Regions from separate parts of the Homo sapiens genome. Here regions 1, 3, 4 and 5 are each linked to region 2. Evidence: promoter capture Hi-C in 16 types of primary human blood cells and fetal thymus (Javierre and others, 2016). All regions are on one chromosome and are shown on one strand. The core of a region is centred on a gene start or on the middle of the fragment in contact, and the rest is flanking DNA. Distances in the headings are between cores, read along the strand shown. Region 1 has its middle 51 kb from the start of RAP1B. Region 2 holds the start of MDM1 (Mdm1 nuclear protein). Region 3 has its middle 26 kb from the start of LINC02384. Region 4 has its middle 71 kb from the start of LINC02384. Region 5 has its middle 48 kb from the start of LINC02384.

The links. The method cuts DNA at HindIII sites, captures the fragments that hold promoters and counts their contacts. A CHiCAGO score of 5 or more calls a contact.
Region 1: a contact is called between a fragment that was not itself captured here and the fragment with the promoter of MDM1 in region 2, in 5 of 17 cell types (megakaryocytes, monocytes, M2 macrophages and 2 more). The highest score is 11.1, in megakaryocytes.
Region 3: a fragment that was not itself captured here is called in contact with the fragment with the promoter of MDM1 in region 2 in 1 of 17 cell types (megakaryocytes); the score reaches 5.8 in megakaryocytes.
Region 4: a fragment that was not itself captured here is called in contact with the fragment with the promoter of MDM1 in region 2 in 1 of 17 cell types (megakaryocytes); the score reaches 7.0 in megakaryocytes.
Region 5: a contact is called between a fragment that was not itself captured here and the fragment with the promoter of MDM1 in region 2, in 2 of 17 cell types (megakaryocytes and monocytes). The highest score is 11.9, in megakaryocytes.

The regions. Positions count from the first base shown.
Region 1 is chr12:68,558,732-68,561,431 of GRCh38, reverse strand. No RefSeq gene overlaps it. Among named protein-coding and RNA genes, the nearest start is that of RAP1B, 51 kb to the left of the region's middle. The HindIII fragment of the contact is 6,611 bases long and covers 1-2,700 here.
Region 2 is chr12:68,331,036-68,333,735 of GRCh38, reverse strand. It overlaps MDM1 (Mdm1 nuclear protein), which reads left to right and starts at 1,374. Exons shown (of 15, transcript NM_001354969.2): 1 at 1,374-1,508; 2 at 2,515-2,629. The coding sequence starts at 1,491. LOC105369819 (a long non-coding RNA gene) reads right to left here and starts at 1,105. Exons shown (of 3, transcript XR_945057.3): 1 at 1-1,105. RefSeq lists a silencer at 1,174-1,433 and an enhancer at 1,734-1,823. The HindIII fragment of the contact is 10,890 bases long and covers 1-2,700 here.
Region 3 is chr12:68,475,801-68,478,500 of GRCh38, reverse strand. No RefSeq gene overlaps it. Among named protein-coding and RNA genes, the nearest start is that of LINC02384, 26 kb to the right of the region's middle. The HindIII fragment of the contact is 3,217 bases long and covers 1-2,700 here.
Region 4 is chr12:68,521,522-68,524,221 of GRCh38, reverse strand. No RefSeq gene overlaps it. Among named protein-coding and RNA genes, the nearest start is that of LINC02384, 71 kb to the right of the region's middle. The HindIII fragment of the contact is 4,435 bases long and covers 1-2,700 here.
Region 5 is chr12:68,498,504-68,501,203 of GRCh38, reverse strand. No RefSeq gene overlaps it. Among named protein-coding and RNA genes, the nearest start is that of LINC02384, 48 kb to the right of the region's middle. The HindIII fragment of the contact is 1,926 bases long and covers 297-2,222 here.

The DNA.
Region 1 (2,700 bases), core at 141-2,640, 230 kb before region 2:
ACGCGCCACTATGTCTAGCTAATTTTTTGAATGTTTTGTGGAGATGGGTTTTTGCCATGTTGCCCAGGCTTGTCTCCAACTCCTGAGCTCGAGCGATCCTCCTGCCTCAGCCTCCCAAAGTGCTGGGATTACTGGCATGAGCCACTGCACCCGGCCTTGTTTTGTTAATTGTATCTATTGCATCACATGAAGAGAAAATACTCACCAATTCTAGCCTGGGGCATTAGGCATTTATTGCTTTCAGTAGATGTTCTCAATTGTGCATAGATCATAGACCCGAACTGATGTTTTTAACCCCTCTGATGAGGCATCACAAGGACAAAAATTTAATTTTATCCAGGATGTATTTGTTAGTCTTTGGCCAAGCTCTTAGCCAGATCTTTTGTAGGATTCCGTTGAAAGTCCTAAAAGAAATAATTCATTTAGTATTTACACTCCATCACTTAAATGTTATGTATTTTAGGATTAAGCAACATCTGGAATTAACCTCTATTTATACAGTTAATTTTTTTTAAAGCCAACAGATGACTCCTTTTGGCACTCTTCTGATAAAATTCTGTCCAGGCCCACAGAGTGATAATCTTGAGACCGGCTGCTCACCTCTCCTAGCCTCCTCCAGTGCCACAGGCCTAGTTGACCTCTGCTGGGTTTCCTGGGGGTGGGCCTGGCCCCCTTCTGCTCACTTCTGGGCCATTTGCCTTGACTTGCTTGGCCCACTCCAGCTGCTTCCCATTCATTTCCTGGCTTCTGAGCTTGCAGAGGGCTTGGGAATTCTTCCCAACTCAGGCAGCCACCAGCATTCTTCCCAGCTGGCAGTTTTCCTGCTAAATGGGAGCCTTCCTCTTGCAGTGTCCTCCACCTGTCTGCAGCTATATCGCCTCTAGACTTGTCCATGGCCCTGGAGCTCAGTGCTCATGTGACACAGCCTGAGCTGAATTCCTGCTCAAGGCTGCAGGGGAGGCCACCAGCTCCACACTTTATTCAGGGCAATGGAAATCCCCTCTTCCCTCGCTATGGTTCCCACCCCCAGTCAGCAGGGGAGCATCCTCTGAGCAGATTGCCATACGTGCCTGTTTCTGCTTCCATTTCCCCAAATGAGAACACTACTGAAGGTCAGCAGAGCTTGGAAACAGCTCACCAGGGTTAAGTCATGGAAAACACCAGTGATCCAGACAGGAAATAGGGGCCACGAGTAGTTTCAGATAGTGACAAAAAACAGGAGTGGCTGAACATTCACACTGTGGATAAGTGGAGTTGGCCACCGCCTGATGCAATTTGTGTCTCCGAGGGTGGCTTCCATTGGCTTTACGCAGTGCCTGAAGTTCTAGTTCCTAGCCCAACTTCCTCTTTCCAGTAGAAGCAGGGTGTGGTGCAGCATTTTCCAGAGTGCTCCTTGCAGTACAAATCCCCTGAGGTGCTCCTTGAGAAAAGGTTTTCATACTTGAATAACACTGCACAATGCTGCACGCTATAGCTCCTTCAAGAAGATCACAGAGTGCATTCATATATTAAGACTATTCGCGCTTGGAAGCTGTGCTTTATCCAGAGGCTCTGAAAGTTATTGGACTACAGAATGCTTCCTTCAAATAACACTTAATCATAATCAGTAAAATTAATGCTCAATGGACATACTGTTCTTTTGTTTGTTTGTTTGTTTCTATTTGAGTTGGAGTCTTGCTCTGCCGTCCAGGCTGGAGTGCAGTGATGTGAGCATGGCACACTGCAGCCTCGAACTTATGGGCTCAAATGATCCTCCCATCTCAGCCTCCCATTACCATGCATGCTAATTTTTTCTATTTGCTATTTTTATTTTTTTGTAGAGTCAAAGCCTCACTATGTTGCCCAGGCTGGTCTTGAACTCCTGGGGTCAAGTGATCCTCCTGCCTCAGCCTACCAAAGTGCTGGGAATATAGTCATGAGTCATGGCACCCTGTTCAACATGCTATTTTTTAAGCCAAGAACACACCTACCTCAGGGCCTTTGTCCTTGCTGGTCCTTCTACTTGCTATGACCTGTCTATGGATATTCACATGACTCACTTCCTCAACTGCTCAAAAGAGGTTTTCTCTGAATGTCCTATCTAAATGACTCTCCCCATTCACTTCAATACAGTCACTTTCTCTTTATCCCCTTATCCGGCTTTGTTATTTTCTATAGCAGTTATAACTCCCTGGCATTATAAATCATTGATTTATTATGTAATAATTAATTTATTTTTGATAAATGTATTGTAGTTAAAATGAAAGCTCCCTGACGGCAGAGGCATTGGTGCCCCCTGTTGTATCCTCAGCTCTAGAACTCTGCCTCTTTCTCTCTCAGTATGACCTTGAGCAAATCCCTTCATCACTTGGACCCTCAATTTCTTTAGGTAAGATGAAGAAAAACAATATCCATTCTGCTTCTCTCATGGGACCATGAGGAGGATCAGGTGAGAACTGGGCTGTGATAGTGCTTGTAAACTGTCAGGAGCTAAAAAATATAGGTTATTTTATATTATTATAAATAATATAGGTTATTATATATTATATAACATATATATAATATATTACCTATATAATATATTACCTATATATTACCTATATAATATAGGTTATTATATATTATTAAACATATATCTATGAACATAATAAATATATTATTAAAGACAAAATGCAAAACAGAAAAGGGAGGTAACCCCCATGGTGAGAGCAGATGAACTAG
Region 2 (2,700 bases), core at 125-2,624:
ATTAACATTAATCAAGGGCCCCCTGGATGCATGGCTGCATTGGGACTAATTTAATATGCTCTTTGTTCCAGATATCAGGTGGCTTCTTCAAATGATTTTTAAGTATCTCGATGATGATGAAGAACAAAGACATCAATCAGGATTCAGGAAGACAGCTTTTGCGGAAAATGCTTAAAGGGAAGCATCAAGGATTGGTGTTGATATTTGAAAGTTTAAGAGTGGTATACTTTTATTCAGTCAACACATGACAAATGTAAAAGGCACTCATTTGTTGTTCCTGGAAGAAGCCTGGCAGCATTCCATTCAGACATCTGCCCTTTCATCGTCCCACTTTTTACTTATTGCAGTCCTTTCAGTCTGAATATTTCCTCCTGACGCATCTTCTGCCGTCCGAAATGACTCCCTGCTCCCAGATCCTGTAGCCCTTATTATTGACACCTTTCATTTAGAAATTTAGCACATGTCACATTACACCATTATTGAATAAATAATGAATAAATAAATAAATAAAGATGTATGTCCTTCCCAAGTATATCAGAGAACTATCTGGACAATTTCTTTCTTTCCCAATTCTCAGAATCAGCAGTATTCTGTCAAGAAACATTTATCGACGATGATGGCAATAGTCGATTAAAATCAGATGAAGTTTTATTTTTAAAAAAAGGTTGAGCGGAGAGACAAGGCTGAAGGTTTGGAAGTTGAGACAACCATCTTCAATAAACGTTTTCTCATCTAAGGGCTGTATGTACATCATTTTGGGGAAGGTAGAGATTGAAGGAGGAAGAACATCACTGGAGGAAGAGACAGCAGTTTGTCTTTCGAGTTTCAATAAAGTTTCAAAAATCTTGCCTAAGTTATATATTTTTTTGGCCTTTCCCTTTTGATGTGACAATAAACTGTAATGCGGCTGTCGTTTGTACGAACCGATATTCAGCAGAATAAATCTGAGCACTTTCAGAAAAAGAAGCGTTCGGTTTTCTCATAGATGTTAGCATGAAGAACACACTTTGACCTTTGATGCTGTCAAGCACCTGGGCCAGCGAGGCTGGCGGCTGGCGAATTCCACCAGCAAGCAGACGCATTGCTGCGCAGGACCCGGCGAACCAGGGACCGGTCCACCCAACCCAGGAAGGCACCCCCGGGGTCCCGCCCAGCCCGGTTCCGGGAGCCTTATTGGCCGGCCTTCCGCCCGCCATCTCTATCAGCCCCAGGGATTTGGCAAGGGAGGTAGGCGGCTCCCTTTCGGCCACTCATTGGTCAAATCCTAATGGAGGTAAGGCACTCTGCGAGTCTCTATTGGTCCCTAGGCTCCAAAAAGGGCGGGGAAAAACAGACCGACAGGCCTCTAGGCGGGAAGCGCGGAGTGCGCCGGCGCGTAGTCGGGGACGCCGGGCCGAGGCTTTGCTAGGGAACACTGTTATCGCCCCGCCCCCTCGGAGCTTTTTCTCCAGTTAACTGTCGGAGTAGCGGGGGCTCCGGCGCCGGGCGACATGCCGGTGCGCTTCAAGGTGAGGCTGGGGTCCCCGGGCCGGAATGTGGCTGGGGGGAGCCATGGCCGGGGAGGTGTGGAGCGCCGAGGTCACGCTGCTTTTCTGCGCTGCAGCCCTCTGCCCGGCGGAAGCTGCCAGCCCCAGGGCCTGCTCGAGGGGCCCCAGAATCTGCCCGCCGCCTCTTAACCTAGTTCCCTCTCCGCTCACTCACATTTGCAAGCTGCAGTGTGTCGAAGAGTCAGATGGTGCGAGACACATTTACTTAGGGGGACTCAAGAGGAGTGGAGATGGGAGGAGGTCCCTTTGCGAAGAGAACTAAAGGCGACTTCAGATTGGGACACCTGTGGCCCATTTAGCTTAGCATTTAACCCCCATTACCTTTAAAACTTTAGTGTATGTGGCTTTTAAAGGCTTGAGAAATGGGTTCTTAGTAAAGACAGCGTATAAAGAAATACACGTTTTTCATCGTTGTGCATTCTTAGCGTATGTTAAAAGTTCCAGGTAGCTGGTAGCTGTCAGGGACTAGCACCCTGCAACTTCACAGGTGGCCACAGCGTCCCACATCTCCTGACTCATTTATCTTAAAGGCGTGTATTCAGAATGGAAGGGGAGTTTGCCTTTTGTTGACTTTATCAAATAGCAAAAGGTCCTAGGCATGGTACATAATATTGTGTACTCGGTGAAAACCTGCGATAAATCTAGAATGATGAGAATTTAGATTGTCATTAGTTATCCGACAAGAACTCATGCTTTGGAATCAGATAATCAGTGAAAGGGTAACCTCTGAGCCTGGAATTCCTGGTAGCATCTGCCTCAAGTGGTGTTGTGGATTAAAGGATATAACACGTGTGAACTGCTTAGCACAGGGCTGGGTGAATATTAGCTCTTATTAAGGAGCTCGTCTGTGTTTAATTTTCAGTCTTAAGTCTCTTTTGGGAGGTTCAGAAATTATTTTTCACCGATGTCTGCTTTAAAACATCATTCATTAATTGGACTGTACTCAAAAGTGTACTTTGCATTACAGGGGCTGAGTGAATACCAGAGGAACTTCCTGTGGAAAAAGTCTTATTTGTCCGAGTCTTGTAATTCCTCCGTGGGGCGAAAGTACCCATGGGCTGGACTTAGATCAGATCAATTAGGTAAGTTGAGCAGGCTAATAGCCATTCTAACCTGGGCTAAGTTTATAACTTGGGCCAAGCCGTTATAACTT
Region 3 (2,700 bases), core at 85-2,584, 140 kb before region 2:
AGGGGTTCCTCTCCATTTTTTTTTTTTTTTTGATCCTGGATTTGGTATAGAAGTTCACCTTGGGCTTGATCACAGCATTTTGATTTTCTAGAGTTTGATCATATTCTTCATCTTCTGTCACTCCAGCCTGAAATGTCCTGCTCTTTATTCTGGCAGTCCTCTCCATTTTCTGGATCTTTATACTTGCTTTTATTTGGATATTTCTTGAGATATAAGAGCTAACGCTACATGTAGTAGTCCAGGTGAGGCACTCCAGCGTTGGGTACCAGGGTAGGATAATGTTTCCAGATGTATTTTCAATACTCAACATGATGTACAGACATCATTTGTTCTTTTGGCTGAAGCAAGGCAATTCCAGCGGAATGTCCTCTGGCATAGCCAGCAACCATGTGGCCAGCCCATTGGGAACATAATGTTTTGAGGTCTCTAAAATCCATTCATTTATTTATTCAACGAATGCTTTAAAATACTTGTGCCAATCTCTATTCTAGTTGCTGTGGATAGGGTAAAATAAAACACGTCAAGTCCCTGTTTTCTTAGAGTGTATTGAGAAGTATGGAAAGACAGTTGATGAATACAAAAATGTATATGACAGGTGGCAAGGGATATGCAGAAAAATGAAACTGGAGAAAGGGAATAAAGGAGGAGTGGGCAGCGGACTTGCTTTTTTAAAATAAGATGGTTAGATATATTCCTGATAAGGTGACATTTGGGCAGAAATTTGAACGAAGCAGAGGTCATCTCACGGAAGAACAGCCCAGGCAGAGAACAGCAAGAGCAAAGGTCTTGGGGAAGCTACTTGCCATGTTTAAGGTTATGCCAGTGTACTTGGATCAAAGTGAGAGTGGAAGGGATTCGGGGAGATGAGGTAAGAGATAAGGCAAGAGCATCAGGATCAAAGAGAGACAGATGATGTATGGTCTTGTAAATTATGGCTAGGACTTTGGGTTTTATCCTGTGTGAAATAGGAAGCCATTATAGTATTATGAGCAAAGAACTGGCCTGATCCAACTGAATATTTTAAGAACTTACTCAGACTGCTTTGTGGTGAGAGGCATGGTGGAGGCAGGGAGGCCAGTTAGACAGCTGTTGTAATAATCCAGGTGAGAGATGATGGTGGCCTGGATCAGGACGATGATGGAGGTAAGGGCAAAATGTGGTTGGATCCTGGATATAGACTGGATAAGAGAGAAAGAGAAAAGCCAATGATAACTCCCAGTTTTCAGCCTGAGAAATTGGACACACTGGGTGAACAGAGTTACCTTTTATTCAGTTGAGGTATACTGTGGGAGGCACATGTTTTGTGTATATGCGTGTGTGTGTATGTTTGTATGTGGGGGTAGGGAATCAGGAGTTCTATTTTATATATTTTAAGTTTATGTCCAAGTAGGGATATCAAATAGGCAGCTAGATATGAGTATGAAGTGTTCAGGGTAGAGGTCAAGGTTGGAGTTCTACATTTGAGATCTTTCAAGTCTTGGGGTGAAATGAGATCACCTAGATAAATAGAGAAGTAGATAAAAAAGAGATCACATGACTGAATCTTGGAGCACTACAACCTACCATTTAGAACTTGAGGAAATAGATAGAACCAGTAAAGCAGTGTAGTTTCTTAGAAAGCTGTTTTGGTGGTTGTGTGGCAGCAGCTACCGTAAATACTGATGTATATATTGGAGAACTGCTTCCAAAGTGGAACAGGATCATTGTGAAAAAGCACAAATAAAGAAAGAGACTTTTTTCTTATCATTGAAAAATCTGGGCCAGGTGCAGTGGCTCAGGCCTATAATACCAGCACTTTGGGAGGCTGGAGCTAGAGGATCGCTTGAGCCCAGGAGTTCAAGACCAGTCTGGGCAACATAGTGAGACCTCGTCTCTATTATTAAAAGAAAAGAAAAGAAAAAAAAATCTGTAGAAGATAGGCCAGTTACTCCCACAAGAGAAAATTAGGTTGAATTAGTTCAGGTTAGGGAAATTTGCTTAACTGACTAGAAAGCAAAGGGATTATATATTCCTGGGAATATAAGCAAGGGATAGAGACAAAGTTCCACAACTCTTGATACCACAGATATGCAAGTTATAAGTACATGCATTTATAAATTCACAAATCAGACTTATATCAGGATATGCATATTAACAGAATCATCTACACAATGCATATAAATACAGTTTGGCCTTCAGAATACTTTTTTTTTTCCAGTGGCAATTGGTGTTAAGTTTCCTAAGTCACACAAAGAGAGATTATTTAACTCGGCAGGGTGCGGTGGCTCACACCTGTAATACCAGCACTTTGGGAGGTCAAGGTGGGTGGATCACTTGAGGCCAGAGTTCGAGACCAGCCTGACCAACATGGCAAAACTCCGCCTCTAAAAAATATACAACAACAACAAAAAATTAGCTGGGTGTGATGGTGTACATCCATAGTCCCAGCTACTTGGGAGGCTGAAGCATGAGAATCACTTGAACCTGGGAGGCAGAGGTTGCAGGTTGCAGTGAGTGCAGATAGTGTCACTGCAGTATACCCTGGGTGACAGACAGAGACTCTGTCTCAAAAAAAAAAAAAAAAAAAGAAAAGAAAGATTATTTAACTCATGATGTAACTCAAGTGTGGGCCTAATTTTTCAATTTCTTATTTTTTAAAAATGCATCACAAGCTGTTTTATTTCAGCGTATGGGAGTGTTTGACAGAGCAACATTTTTGTA
Region 4 (2,700 bases), core at 182-2,681, 190 kb before region 2:
ATTCTATGCATGTGACAAAATATCACATGAACCCTAGAAATATGTACGAATATTATGTATCAATAAAAAATATCCTACAACATTATGAGGTAGCTACTATTGTTATTTTCCTAGGTGAGGAAATGGAAGCACAGAGAGGGTAACTAATTCCTCCAAACTCACTTGTTGACTTAAGTGACAGAGATGGGATTTAAATCTAGATCGACTTGCTCCAACATTTTGTTCTCCTACCTACTCTCCTGTTTATATAAAGCATTTAAAAAATAGAGGCACCCAGGCTGGGTGCAGTGGCTCACGCCTGTAATCCCAGCACTTTGGGAGGGCGAGGTGGGTGAATCATGAGGTCAGAAGTTTGAGATCAGCATGGCCAACATGGGGAAATCCCGTCTCTACTAAAAATACAAAAATTAGCCAGGCATGGTGTGTGTCTGTAATCCCAGCTACTTGGGAGGCTGAGGCAGGAGAATTGCTTGAACCAGGGAGGCAGAGGCTGCAGTGAGCCAAGATTGCGCCACTGCACTCCAGCCTGGGCAACAGAGCAAGACTCCGTCTCGGGAAAAAAAAAAAAATAGAGTAACACAACTGAAAAATAGGCAAAAAGAGGAAAGTAGAAAATTCATAGAAGAAGAAATACAGTGGCCTAGAAATGTGTGAGAAGATGCTAAACTTCACTAGTTACCAAAGTAATGCAAATTAAAACAACATGAACTGTCACTGTTGCCCTCAGGTTGGTAGAAAAGTTTTAAAGAAATTCTAATAAATAGATACAATTTAAATAAAAATTATAAGAAGAAGCAGGGAATGTGTCTTCTACTTTGTTGGTAGGAAATAAATTGCTATGACAGTTTAGGTGGGCAATTTGGCAGTATTAATCAGAATTACAAATTCACGTGCTTTAGATGAGGAATATACTTTTTGGAATCTAGTTAACTATATCCTAGTGATATACACATAGATGTGGTACAGCTCTACAGTAAAAAAGCAACTTAAACATTAGAAATATGCACACAGATGTGGTACAGCTATACAAATATATAACGTTTAAAATTCAAATTAAACATTAGAAATAATGGGGGTAGATCTATATATTCTGCTGTAAAAGATGTCCAAAGCAGAGCAGTGATTATTGTGTCTGGGTTAAAAAATTTAGGTTAAGAAATACAGACATCTGTGTCAAGAGCAAAACCCTGTGTATACTCTTGGGTGCCACATGCTTTTCTTGGAGTCTCTGTGGTTGCCTTCTAGAATGCCCCTGACTGCAAGTCTCACCTCCAAGTCTTTGTCCCTACAGGTAAGGGATTATTATTGAGATTCTCTGAGGTCTCCTGTGCTTATGTTGCCTTTGGACATAGGGTCCTTTCTTCAACTCAGATTAGTCTGCTTCATGTCCCGCAGAGTGTCTGTCTTTGATGTTGCTACTATGTGCTTATCACTTTGCCCTAGTTTCCATTGCCAGTGTAGGTTTGTTCATCTATATGTATTTTTATTCCCTTGGTCATTTCAATGAGCTTATGGGAGGGGCAGCTGGAAATGCATGTTCAAGTCACCATATTACCTGGAATAATTTTAATACCTCATTTTAGATAATTTCTTTTGCATTTTCTCTAATTACTTAGGGACATTTTTAGGAGTTTTAATGCCAAATAAGTAAACATTTGGAAGGGTGCATATTTGGGAATTTTGCCAGAACCAATTTTAAAAGCAAAGTTTTGATAGAAATGATAGACTATGGTAAAAATTAATGAAAACTTGTTTAAGAAACAGTTTATTTTGCATAGTTAGAATGGACTTTATCTGTACACTTAAGACTGTGCAATGGTTTTAACTGAATATATGTCTTTTACTGTACCTGAGGGTATAGTCTGTACTAGAGGAATAAAAGGATCCGACTGCGGTGCCAGTGAATGAAATAGGCCTGTTCCTTACAGAGCTGTGATGTACAGTGATTATCATTCAACAATGCCCACAGGAAGTGAGGATATCGAAATGGTCCCTATGAAGACAAGGGACATTACTCACTAACGGGTAGCATATCTATCAGCCTTGAAAATAATTAGAGATACTAAAATCATAACTGCATAAGCATATGGAGAGCTGTGCAGTTTAAAACACAAGTGCATATTTGTATATTTCATCAGAGTTTATAATGGCTTTCACATGTTTTTTCCTCATAGAATCCTCACAACAACCCAGGCAAAGTGGACAGTGTAATTTTATCCCTGTTGTGCAGATGAAGACACTATCGGTCAAAATGATTAAATGATTTAAGTAAGGTCACACATTCAGTTAGTAGAAATTCTCATATATAACATCTTTTAGATCATATCAGTTTATTAAAAAATGATTCATTCAGTAGCTATAGGGGCAAATCAATACACTGTGATATTTTATACTCCTGTTAACAGTGTATGAGAGTCAGAATTTCTTAGCACACTAAAAGCAAGGCAGTTCTATGAAGGCCTCCTTCACAAGCGATTGCCACGTCATCTGTGCTAATTTCCTGAAAACTTTGTTAATGGTCATTCATTAACAATCATTCCCATTTTATCTGAGGCTTTTCATTTCTGGCTTATCTTCATTATAATTTACATGTTTCCTTTAAAAATGTTTTCTAAAGCACAGCAAACCAGTAAACGTGCTAATAAAAACTAAAGCCGAGATTTAATTTCTTAGATAAAATTGAAACAGGCTGACAAACTC
Region 5 (2,700 bases), core at 10-2,509, 170 kb before region 2:
ATGAGAGAGCAAATACTTGACACCATCCCCAGAAAGTCAGTGGTGGGGATAATGCATTTTTAATCCCAAACACCTGGCCTCCTTTTATTTGCCCACCGGAATGAGGTTTCTTGATTATTCAAAAAAGTCCTCTTACGCTGGTGCTCACAAATGAGTAAAAAGGTTAATAAATTTCAGGTCTACTTAGTAATCCAGGGAGATAGAAGTCTGCAAACAGAGATTTTTCTTTTTAGGTTGAATCTGACATTATGAAAAGCTACCCATCTTTTCTCATACTCAAAGTATTTACCCAAGCTTTAAACACTGGGTAGCAAGAGTGTGGTGAAGGAGCTAACATTAATCGTGGGACCATTTTGCGGAATCTCATGCACATTATCTCATTTAATTTTCATGACAATCCCTTAAGGAAAGCAACATCGTTCCCATATGACATAAGTGAGGACAGGAGGGGGCTTTGACATATCCTATCACAGAGAGGCCCATGCCGATGCAGTTTCTTTAAGCCCTGCTGATCCCTTGTAAAATTTAGTCATCCTCTGCCGCCGACCTCCCTCATCCACACAGTGGTATCATGCTGCAATACTTTGATACAAGTGCCTCTTTGCCACTGTGCAATGCCAGTTATGGTGAGATATAGCTCCCATTTCCAGCCACCTTCTGTGGCCAGCCAATTCATGAGACCATGGACAAGTGCAGACTCCATCTTACTAGGAGAGGAGACAGTGGAACTGATAGCCCCTCCCTCAGCAGTACAAATACAACATCTGTCTCCTCAAAGCTATTTCCTCTGCTCTGGTTATGTAGAGGCAGGCATGCCAGTGCCTTTATGTTGACTGGGGCAGTGGAGGTGGTGGAGGATGATAGTGGGAGGTAAGGAGAGTTTTCTGAATTGATACCTCTCAGTAAACCCTGCATGGCCATGGAAGGGGTACCTGGTGGTTTTGGTCTTTGGTTACAATTCTGGGACAAGAGCATCACTTACACATGGATTATCAAATTTAGCTCTTATAACAACCGTATGAGGAAGGTTTGTTCATGTAATATAGTAGTTGCAAACATGGGCTTGGGCTTTAATTACAGGTCTTATATCATTCACGTCAAGTTCAAACATGACCACTGTTGTGCCTATTTCCTCTCTGTATCATGGGAAGAATGATAGTTCCTACCTTATGCTATTGTGAACAGTAAAAGAGATAACCTACATGGTAGTAAATGCTGTGTAAGTGTTTGCTATTGTTATTTTTATTTTCCAGATGAGGAAACTAACACCCAGATAGGTTCATAGCTGTTGAAGATCATATAGCTAATATGTGCCTCTAAAAGCCATGCTCTTAGCCATTCCTTCACGGTGGTGTTACTTAGCCTTTTCCACATTCTGGCACACATGGAAAAAATGTGTGGTTATAATAATGTTATTACTCATACACAGCATTGGGGACAATTAATAGGATAGCTCAAATCTTAAGGTAATTGGTCTGGGAGGCCCTGACTGTGCCAGGTCCCCTCTGATTAACTGACACTCTGGCTGTACTGGAGCAGGGAACAGAACCTGCTTCTCCAGGCCAATAGTTAGGTAAGTCTTCATGGAGAAAATGATGTCTTAGGTGTGGCTGAAAGATTAGTAAAATTTAGTAGCAAAAGCAAAGGATGAGAATGGGGAAGTGGGGAAGTCTGCTTAATTTTCTCCTGTAGAAAATGGAGATCATGGTAATACCTGTTTCACAGGTTAAAAATGAAATAAAGGAACATACATGGAAAAGGCTTTGTAAGATGTGATATCAATGTTAGCTGTTACTATTCTTGAGGTAAATGAATAAAATATTTAAAACCGTAAAAGTGAACAGGGCATAGTGGTCGCAGAGATAGAACACTGCTACCAAACATTCACTTGGGGAAAGTTTACAGCTTTAATAGGACTCGTATCCTTTCATTCATCCATTTATTCATTCATTCTTAACCAAATAAAAGTGAACATAAGCATTCTCCAACATTTGTTATGAGGCTCAGCCTATTTTCATCAATAACTGAAGCAAGTAGGAATAAGATCAAGAATCCTATAATCTCAAGCCAGGTGTGTCTCTGAAGTCCATAGTAGTTTGGCCATATCTGGGAAATGGCATACCAGGCTGTCTCTATGTGATAGTCCCAGGGCTTCTTGGGTGAGGACTTGTCCAGAGGGGCAAGGCAGCTAGGCAGAAGCAGCTGGATCCCAAAACAAAGCTTCGATCATTGGAGGGAAGGGGTTTGGGGCTGTCACTCAGGTTGTCTCTGGCTCAGGGAGGGACATCTGCATCCTGTAGAGGGAGCATGGGAAGGTTGTGAGTAAAACTTGCACTGACAGCGTTGTCCATCCCTGGGGTCCAAGGACATCTGCCTTGGACCTCCTGCCCTAAGCTAGAGTAAGCCAAGAAAAAAGAAGGGAAGCGAGAACTTCTTTCCAACTATGCAACACAATACCGAGACACCTTGCCACTCTGAGGGCTCCATGGCATCAGCTGTGGTAGGAGATGTCAGCACCTGCTGGAAATGGTGGCAACCAAAGGATGGAGGCCACAGAAGAAGAGAGAATAGCAGGTGCTATGTGGATGAGAATCAGATTTATTTACGGAAAATATTCACAGAGTGATTAAGGACAAAAAGTAGGAAAACATGGGTTACATACAGAACAAGGCAAAGATAGTTAAACCTTGAAACTTTTCC